2 separate regions of the Homo sapiens genome follow, and region 1 is linked to region 2. Evidence: promoter capture Hi-C in 16 types of primary human blood cells and fetal thymus (Javierre and others, 2016). All regions are on one chromosome and are shown on one strand. The core of a region is centred on a gene start or on the middle of the fragment in contact, and the rest is flanking DNA. Distances in the headings are between cores, read along the strand shown.

The links. Contacts are between HindIII fragments. The CHiCAGO score rates a contact against its expected background, and 5 or more counts as called.
Region 1: a fragment that was not itself captured here is called in contact with the fragment with the promoter of CARMIL1 in region 2 in 1 of 17 cell types (naive CD4 T cells); the score reaches 6.3 in naive CD4 T cells.

What each region holds. Positions count from the first base shown.
Region 1 is chr6:25,366,695-25,371,695 of GRCh38, forward strand. The region is part of intron 2 of CARMIL1 (capping protein regulator and myosin 1 linker 1); the gene reads left to right. It overlaps LOC124901281 (a long non-coding RNA gene), which reads right to left. Exons shown (of 3, transcript XR_007059512.1): 2 at 3,252-3,385. Among named protein-coding and RNA genes, the nearest start is that of CARMIL1, 90 kb to the left of the region's middle. The HindIII fragment of the contact is 4,612 bases long and covers 441-5,001 here.
Region 2 is chr6:25,277,352-25,282,377 of GRCh38, forward strand. CARMIL1 (capping protein regulator and myosin 1 linker 1) reads left to right here and starts at 2,023. Exons shown (of 37, transcript NM_017640.6): 1 at 2,023-2,484. The coding sequence starts at 2,445. RefSeq lists a silencer at 1,751-2,220. The HindIII fragment of the contact is 9,381 bases long and covers 1-5,026 here.

The DNA.
Region 1 (5,001 bases), core at 1,497-3,996, 90 kb after region 2:
TATGAATTAAGTTAAGTAACAGCACCCTCTTACAGGACACAAGAGAATAATCATGTCTGTACAGGTTGGCCCCTGGTAAGATGCTCATTTAAAAATGGTTGTGTCAGTTTAATATAAGTGTGTTCTTTTCTTGCCTACTTAAAATGTATTTCTAACTATGACTTTTCTTTTGGAAAATGATTGACTTTGGGGGAGCTCTTTCAGAGGTAAAGGAAGTTAACTAGCAGATCTAGGTAACTGAACCTTGTGTACTATTCTAGAAATGTTTATACTTCTGCCAAATTGAAGCATGAGTTCAGTGTTTGCATAACCACCTGTGCAGTTACTCATAGTAGCATTCCAGTATGCATTTGCTGAACTATACTCTTCAATTTTGCAATAAAAGTATTTTCACATGTTGGCTGCTACTGTGAAAATTGGTTTCTCTCAAATGTTCGGAAAGCTTGTGCTGCAGTTTTGATGTGGGGGGTGTGGTTTAGTGCTGCATAACATTTACTTTTTTGGTGGAAGGGGGATCTGTGATGTAAACTTTTGGTTTCAATTTCTCTATTTGGAGCTCTTTTTGTTAGTGCTAAGAATTCTGAGGGTATCCCTATAGATGCTGGTTAAAAAACAAACAAAGCAATGTTGTCATTGACAGTTTGGTCAAGTGGGATGTAAGCTGCTGAGTGGGGTGAAGACCTGGTCTCCTTGGGGCTGATTTGGGGTTTGGGAGTGGTTTGGAGGGTGGCTGCCATTGAGGAGCAGGAAGTGTGGGGGTTGCTGCTGTGTCTGGAAGGACCTCCTAGGGGAGAGCTAGCAAACCAACATCACCAGTGCCCCCAGAACACTCAGCTGTGTGTGATGTGGCTGTGTGTGCCCTTGCTGGTACTCAGTCCTGTTAAGGCTTGAAGAGGAAGGTAAGGAGGGTAAGACTTGGAGAGGGAAGAGTTAAGGAGGGAGAATATTAATGCAGTAAGGAAGTAATTCATATTTTGAGACAGGTTCCCATGTGTGAACACTTGACTTCCAAACAGCCCACACTTGGCTTCATTATCTACAGACCACCTCTCCTGTGCTGCATTCAGACTCTCCCCCAAACCCCGACGGAGCCTCGGTCTGTCGCCTAGGCTGGAGTGCAGTGGCATGATCTCGGCTCACTGCAGCTTCTGCCTCCCAGGTTCAAATGATTTTCCTGCCTCAGTCTCCCGAATAGCTGGGATTTACAGGCACATGCCACCATACCCGGCTGATTTTTGCATTTTTAGTAGAAATGAGGTTTCCCCATGTTGGCCAGGCTGGTCACAAACTCCTGACCTCAAGTGATCTGCCTGCCTTGACCTCCCAAAGTGTTGGGATTACAGGCGTGAGCCACCGCACCCGGCTGCATTCAGACCTTTCCACGTCAGCTGAACTATCAGTAAAATTCTGAGCACAACTCTGAGAGAAATTCAGAGTTCAAATCAGTTGGTATGCCAGAAGCAGAGAACCCTGATCCTTACTGGAGTTGACTAGGACACCTTCTCTTTATTAGTTAAAGGTATGGCTAAATTTAAATAACTAATAGAGGTCAGACACGACTTACTTAGTTTCTGAGAGTAGTTGTTAACTGTCCTTTTCCCAAGGGAAATAAGCTAAGCTGAATTACTTAAACCACACTTTTTCCGTTTCTTAAAATGATTTCCATTTCCCTGCCCTAGGAAAAGTAGGCGGCTGCAGAGAGGTTGTGACAGAATTATAAAGCTATTTGAGTTAAATTAGCCCAGTACATCACTCTTAGAGCACATTGAACAGACAGCTAACACCTCCTGATAAGCACCAGCTACATACAGATCAATGTTTTCAAATGAAACCAAAGACATACATTCAATTTAGGGAGACAAAACAGACATTACTCAGGAATCTCATAGAACCCCAGATGATTATGATATAACCAATAACATAAGACCCACCTGATTGGCAGTTCTGTGAATCACCCTAAAATCTCTACTAAAATGGTTAAGTCCTGTACTCTTTACTCTGGAGTCCTCTTGTCTACCTTTCAGAAATGGTTGAAATATTTAGATGTGGAATTAATGAGATTTTACATGTCTACACTCTTGCTTTATATATTTTAATGTGATAAATGGCCTCATGTATGTATATTCTTCCTTGTCCCAGACTCATGTTTTTTGAGTAAAATCTTTAATTGGTCAAAATGTGTTGTATTGATCAGTATGTTATATAGAATGATGTACTTATTGATTTACTGTAAATAATTACAGTGGAGCAATTCTGTTAGGAGGGTTCGTTTTTGCCATTTTAGCAAGGAAAATTTGCCAGTTATTTTGGCTGAATTTAAAACCCCTTACATGATTAGATCACATGTCTATTTCTGCTGTAATAGAGGAGTGTAAGTAACTAAGTTTATCTGAACTTTTAGGAGTCTCCTTTTAGGCTCAAATTAGTTAGTCTGGTGTCTATACAGGGCCTTTGTTAAAGACTGGATTTAAATATTGGGTGGATCTGTCTTGGATCCTGTTCTAGGGAACGCTTCTTGGAAGTCCCAGACGGGGAACTCATCATAACCTGGTTTTACCCCGTAGCATGGCCCTGTGCCATCGACACCATTAGAGCAAGGCTCAGTGTCTCGAGCTTTAGTTTAATTCTCAACCCATTGATCGCTCTTGCAGTCAGCTTAACAGTTGAATGCAATGCTGTATTTTGTTTTTTTTTTTTTTTTTTAAAGCTAGTCCAGAAATTACCACAGCTGCTTCTCAGTTAATCAGATGCTTAAGACTCCCGTTTCCACATTGCTTGGCTGCTACATTTTTATAACACCACAGCTGTCTGGATCTAGCTTGTGCCCCTCGCCCCCCTTACCCCTTTCCATCTGCCACCTCTCACCACTTCCTCACTTGCTATGTATCGAGGTGGCAAATTCCCAAGTAAACTGCTGACTTTCCTCCCCTGCAGGAAGGCTGGGCCTTTGGTTCACAGTAGCCTCTTTCACCAGAACTCTCGTAGGCTAGGAACCAACCCTGGAGTACTGCTGCTCTCAGAAGTGCCCACATTTGCCTCTGGAGCTTGCTTTGTGTGTTTGGGTGTTGAATTTTCCCCTTGACTTGGAAACTTTTGTGAAGAAACTGAAAGGTGCTTTCAGATTAAGCAGCTGTGGCTCCCCCTTCCAGCCACGCTCTTTGTTTTTAAAGCTCAAAGTCTTATTTGAAGTGAGGAGAGAAGGTAGGTAGGTTGCAGTCCAGGTTTTTCTGTTTGTGAATGACGTTGCTTACCTTGGCTGATTCCTTTTCCTAATGACGGTGCTTCTACTCTTGGCCTTTTGCCATGTGTGTACCATCCACTGGGAGCTGTTTTCCCTTGTCCTTTAAAGCGTATCCGACTCTATCTCCAGTGCTCTTCTAGCAAGCTGTTACAGTAAGCATAAAAACAAGCGCATTAAACTAGGAATAAAATGCCAAGTTTCTGTCTCCTTGCCAACCTCATTAGAAAACAGTGATAAAGTATGTATGCATATAATTACAGTAATTAAACATTTGAAACCAGCTCAATAGGGAACCTTCTTAATGCTTTTATGAGTGTGATATTTTCATTTCAGAACTGGACTCTGTGTGGCTTCTATTTTATTCAAGACCTTCATCTTTATGGGGGTAGGCGGGGGAAGGTGCTCCTTTTGACCACAGCGCCAAGCATCTGCAAGAGTAGCTTTATTACACATGTATTAGCAGGGAACAGAGCAACCTTTCCATCACTGTGTTTATTTTTGAGGGTGTGTAGCCAGTTGTCAAATATAAAGACATGAATGGCCTGGCTAGTAAAGAAGACGTGGAAAATAATTGTAAACTGTCTGCCATGATGTGCTTGCTCTTAAGAGCAAAGGACAGGAATATTTTGTCTTTTGTACTGCCCCGACGGAGTCATACAGCCCCTGCATTTGTGTGGGATGATAGAGTAGCACTATGGGGTTTGTCTGCCTCGTAGCTCTTCCACCCTGAGAGCTATTCTCACTTAGGAAGTGGAAAGTCTAAAGGACCAACTGTAGGTTGAACCAGGAGTTTCATTCACTAAACATATTTTTTTTTTAGTTGATATATATATATGTAAAATTTCAATAGCTTTTGAGGTACAAATGGTTTTTGGTTACACGGACAAATTGTATAGTGGTGAAGTCTGCGATTTTAGTGCACCCATCATCTGTGTATATTGTACCCAATATGTAGCTTTTTTTTATCCCTCATCTCTCTCCTCCCCTCCCCTCTTCTGAGTCACCAAAGTTCGCTAAATGACTCTGTATGCTTTTGTGTACCCATAGTTTAGCTCCCACTTATAAGTGAGAACATACGGTATTTGGTTTTCCATTCCTGAGTTACTTCACGTAGAATAATGGCCTCCAGCTCCATCCAAATTGCTGTGAAAGATATTTCATTCTGTTTTATGTCTGAGTAGTATTCCATAGTGTATATAGACCACATTTTCTTTATCCATTCATCAGTTGATGGGCACTTAGGTTGGTTCTGTATCTTTGCAATTGTGAATGGTGCTGTGATGTGTGCACGTGTCTTTTTGATAGAATTACCTCTTTTCCTTTTAGTAGTTGCCCAGTAGTGAGATTGCTGGATGGAATGGTATCTTTACTTTCAGTTCTTTAAGGAATCTTCATGCTGTTTTCCATAGAGGTTGTACTAATTTACATTCCCACCAGCAGTGTATAAGTAAGTGTTCTCTTTTTACCACATCCATGCCAACATCTATTGTATTTTACCTTTTTAGTAATGGCCATTCTGGCTGGGGTAAGGTGGTATCTTGTTGTGGTTTTAATTTGCATTTCCCTGATGATCAGTGATGTTGAACATTGTTTTGTATATTTGTTGGCCATTTGTATATCTTCTTTTGAGAAATGTCTATTCATGTCATTTGCCCACTTTTTGATGGGATTATTTGGTTTGTTTTCTTGCTAATTTATTTGAGTTACTTGTAGATTGTGGGTATTAGTTCTTTGTAGGATGCATAGTTTGCAAATATTTT
Region 2 (5,026 bases), core at 773-3,272:
CTGCTTGCTATTCTGAAACATATTTGAGTTTTGCAACCGAGAAGTAAATGACTTTGATTTCCAAAATCAGTCAGTCATTTTTCAGTGTTGTGATAGGAGATTCATTTGAATTCACTTCTTCAGAGATGCAGGAGCCAATCAGGATCCTGTTGCAGTGAAAATGATTCTTTTATTGAAACCCCAGCTTCCTTTAAAAGAAGCCAAAGAGTACTGAATTACAGAACTGCCATACAGCCTTCCCTTTATTCTTTCCATCACCCAGGCCACAGGAAAAAAAAAAAAAAGACAAACTTTTGTTCTTATTTTCACAAGTTATCACATGGTTTGGAAACTTCAGGGCATTTCTGAAACTTCATTGGTATGTGCCAGAAAAGTCCTCTTTAACACACCAGGTTGAATGAAAGACAGTTTGAGATGTTAATTTCCATTTACTGCAGAAAAAATATATTTAATGCATTAAGGAAATGTCTAGCTTAAAGAAATTGCCCACTTTTGAAACAAATGGTTGGAGGCCTGAGGTCCAAAGCTCTAAAATCAGTTAACAAATGTTTATTGAACACCTATTTTGAACTAGGCTGTTGAAGAAGTTCAAAAGTCTAAGATAAATTCCCACTTTCAACTCACCTACAGTCTAGTTGGGCAGAAAAAATCCAAACTCAGGGGACAATGCAAGAGTTAGATAGTAAAACCAGACAAATACACAAGCAATGAAACACGACACCATATGGTTGGGTTTAGAAAAGTGTTTCAGGCAATACATATTGTAGAGGCTTAGGGATCACAGTAATCTGAAAATCCCTGGAAAATATTCACAAAGAAGGTAGACCATTGGGATGGGTTTGAAAACATAGATAAGAATCAGATAACCTTAAGAGGAAGGAGGAAGCAAACAGTGAGTCTGGTTGTAATAGAGAAGGGAGTGGGAGAGGTTAAGGAGGGTGGGAAGGGGCCAGGTTGGCAAATCCTTAGTGGTAAGGCCTGGCTGTGGGGCTGAAGATGATTCTAAGGGGTCCAAGGTCAACAGCAGTGTTTAAAATTAGATTGCCAAGTGCATGGATTCCCTTTCCTTTCCTCCTTTTCTGTCCTTTAAAAGCAGAACCTGATTAGACAGTCTGGGACATTCCCAGCCCTAGGCTAAAAAGCAGCGATTGAGGCACAAAGTATTCTTGGCCCTGAAGTTGAACCTCTGGGGATGGAGCTCAGGGAAGTCATAGGGAGTTTGGGCCCAGGTAGGATCAGACCTATCCGCAGGCTTACATAGGCTCCAGTGATTAAAGCTCAGCTTCCTGAATATGCCCCGAGGATAAAAGAGACTTTTCCGAGTGAAAGGCATTTTCCAAGGCGCTCTCAACGGGAATGTCTGAGATAGCGAACTGCGGCTGCAGAGCACCAGCTGAACGCACACACACAAGTGTCTTCTCACGGTATGATTAGTGTTCACAGGTTTCGTCTAGCTCATCAGAAATGAAGAATAGCGATGATGAAGTGACATGTCACCGGGAGGGTTGAAAAAGAAAAAGTGCGTAAGAGGGTCCCAAAAAGAACCAGCTTCCGTGTAGACGGGTCTGCAGAATCTGCCGTCTCCCGTCTTCTGGGTCCCCTGGCCCGCCCGGAGTGGGGACAAGGAAATGGAAAGCCCGGCTCACCCGGCTCTCCTCCCTCGCAGCCAGCAGATGGCTCCCGGGCTCTCTCGCGAGCCCGCTCGCCCCCTCTCCAGACGCAGGGCTTTTGCGGTTTGGGAGGGAGGCTGCGAGGAGGGGCGCGGTGCCCGCCGCCGCCACCGCAGCACCGCACAGCGTCTCTCCTGGGGGTGCGACCTACGCCGGGGACCCAGCGCTCGGGCACCGGAGGCCGGCCTCGCACCGGTGCGGAGGCCGGCTCTCGCGAGGTGAGGAGGAAACGCAGGAGGAAGAGGAGAAGGAGAAGGAGGAGAAGGAGGAGGGCCGGAGCTGCCCCCGCCCAGCCGGAGCCCGGCAGGAGCGCGAGGAAAACCTACTCCCCCCGCCCCGCGCCGCTCTCCCCGCCCTCTCCCACGCCTTCCGCTTTCACCTAGGGCTGTAGGTGCGGCGCGGAGGCTGGGCGGGAGCTACGCCGGCCCAAGCCCCGCCGGGGACCAGCGAGCCGGGAGGAGGAGCAGGCGCCACAGCCGCCCCGCGCCCCGCGCCCGCTTGTAATCCGGTCCGCTCCTTATTCAGCCGCCGGGAACTGCGAGGAGGCGTCATGTAGCAGCAGCAGCAAATCCGCCTCGCATTTGCAACTCTTTTTTTTTTTTTTGGTGGGGCGGGGGGCGCGCGGCAAAATTCTGTCTCCGCCCCCCCTTTTCTTGCCCACTTCCATTTGCAAGCTGCATCTGCCTCTCTAAAAAAATTGAGGAGTTCGGGGAAGGGCAGGGGGCCATAAATCAGAGTTGGACCTGCAATAACCCCCACACCTACAGGGCAACCATGACCGAGGAGAGCTCTGACGTTCCCAGGGAGTTGATAGGTAAGATTCACGCGGTTGTTGGTTTTCCACCTTCCTCTGCGTACTCCTCACCTCTCTCTCCCTTCCCACCTCTGCTTTCCCGCAGGTCTCGAGAAGTCTTGGCGCCCCTTAGGGCAGAGTGGTGTTGGGCAGGGTCACTGGGGGTGCCGGGAAGTTTGTTCCCATCCGACCGCCTGTAGAGCCAAGTGCAGAGAGGGAAGGCTTCGGGGAGGAATCGGGAGTCCTCGGGAGGTGGGTGGGAGGAGGGTCTCGACTGTGAGCCCTGGGCACCTCCTCTTGCCCGGAAGCGGGGATCCAGGTTGGCGAAAGAAGGGGGCGGGCCATCTTAGACTTGGGAGTTCTGCAAGCGAGGGGAGCCCTTTACAGCTCCCAGCCCACTGCCCCAAACTCGGGAAAGTCCGGGAAAGCCTATTGGAAGGACAGGTGGCGAGCGCACAGTAGGTCGTCTCCGGCACGTGTCAGGCGCTTTCCTGAAAATGCCCCGCGGGAGGTGATCTTCTGACACGCAGACTTGGGGGAGTGGGCGCTAGTCTGGTAAAATGACTGGGCTTGGCAAGGTGTGGCTTGGTGTAGCCAGCTGGGAGCGAAAGGGTTACAGGGCTGACGCAGACTCAGGCCAGGAAATAGAGGGTTAATGATAAAAGCCTTATTTTAATAATGATTAACCTACCGATTCTCCCTATAGGGGATCTCTTAGGGAACCCGTGTGTGTTACGCTGTGCAAGGTGACCCATTGTTTGAGTACCTTGAGGTTTTTTTTTTTTTGGTGGTGGTGGGGGCGGGGCTGGTTAAGTCTTGGGGTTTAACTTAATTATCTGGAGGGTTAAAATGGCAGAGCTGAAATAGGATGGGAGAGTGTTCTGAAAACCTAGCGTTTAAGCATGTATATGTGTGTAGCATGTTATACTGTAACAAGGTATGTGCGTCTGTGTACAGATGTGTTTTGAGCCCTAGTGACCTATATTCCCTCCTGTACCATTCTTGGCACACTACACAGCCTACAGCTCACAAAGATGATGTTTAATCGGCGCTGACAACAAGAGGAAGTTCTGAGCACCCGTTGATCTCCATGTGTGGAATTTGCCCCTCTGTTGTTTCTTTTAGCTAATAATACTTTGGAGGAATTTGTGTATGCCCTTCCGTTGGTGACTGTTAACTCAGCAGGTAAAACTTGATGTAGAGAGGCTGTTGCTAGGTTTGTATGGAAGCCCCTACTTCTGCTGAATTACAGACAAACCTGATCTTTTACCAGAATTTACAGTATGAAATTATTCACAGACGCACGCGCGTGTGCGCGCGCGCACACACACACACACACACACACACACACACACGCACCTCTCATCATGATCCCAGCAGATCCTCTTCTCTCTCCCCAACCCTGTGGAGTCTGCATCTTTTGCTGGAGTGAGTGACACATCCGGTTCTGGGAGGCTGCGACCTTTCCAACACCCCAAGCAAACGCCAGAGGCTCTGAAGACGCCTCCAGAGGTCCTGAGAATGAGTGTAGGGCAGGGCTTGCCTGGCTGGTCAGGGGATAAGGATGGCTAAAGTGGGTGGCAGATTTTTACTTTATATAAGGAGTTGTCCTTAAGTCTGGAAATGGAAAGTGTAGGTAATTACTTAGGCCCAAGAGAAAGAGTGAAGGGTAGAGTGGAAATAAGGTGTCTGGGTTTCTATTCATGGTTCTCAAAAGGAATAGTTTGTATATTTTAAAAGTTGAGTTTGACCTTTATCTTGAAATGGAATTTTTGTTTTTATTAAGTATTGCCTATCTCTTTCAAGAGAGTGACATATTATGCCCGATATGATTTTTCTGGGCCTTTCAGTGGTCAAGTTAGGCTGGGATAGAATAAATACCTGCACCTGCTTTCCTCTAAATTCAAGTGCTCACAAGAGTTCTGCTCTGATCAATTCAAAATGGCGACCGACCACATGAAAACCTCTATATATTCCCTTAAGATTCCCTCAAGATATTTAAAAAGTGTTACAGACTTGGCTGAGCGTGGTGGCTCACCCCTGTAATCCTAGCACTTTGGGAGGCCGAGGCAGGTGGATCACCTGAGGTCGGGAGTTGGAGACCAGCCTGACCAACATGAAGAAACCCGGTCTCTACTAAAAATACAAAAATTAGCTGGGCGTGGGGGCACGTGGCTGTAATCCCAGCTACTCGGGAGGCTGAGGCAGGAGAATCACTTGAACCCGGGAGGCGGAGGTTGCCGTAAGCCGAGATCAAGCCATTTCATTCCAGCCTGGGCAATAAGAGTGAAACTCCATCTCAAAAAAAAAAAAAAAAAAAAAAAGTGTTATAGACTTTATGTAGAAACAATTTAAATGTAGAGAAGAATAAGAAGACTATATGTCACTCCTGTTACCACTTAGAGGTAGTTATTTTAAAGGGTATATGATTTTCCAGTCTGTTTCCATGTGTATATGTTCTTAAGTCAATTTCAGATGCCCATTTCCCGCAATTCTTTTTTAGGGGAGGGAGGAGTGGCCTGTGCTTGTTTCTCGAGTTCTGATAAGATAGGAGCTTTGTGAA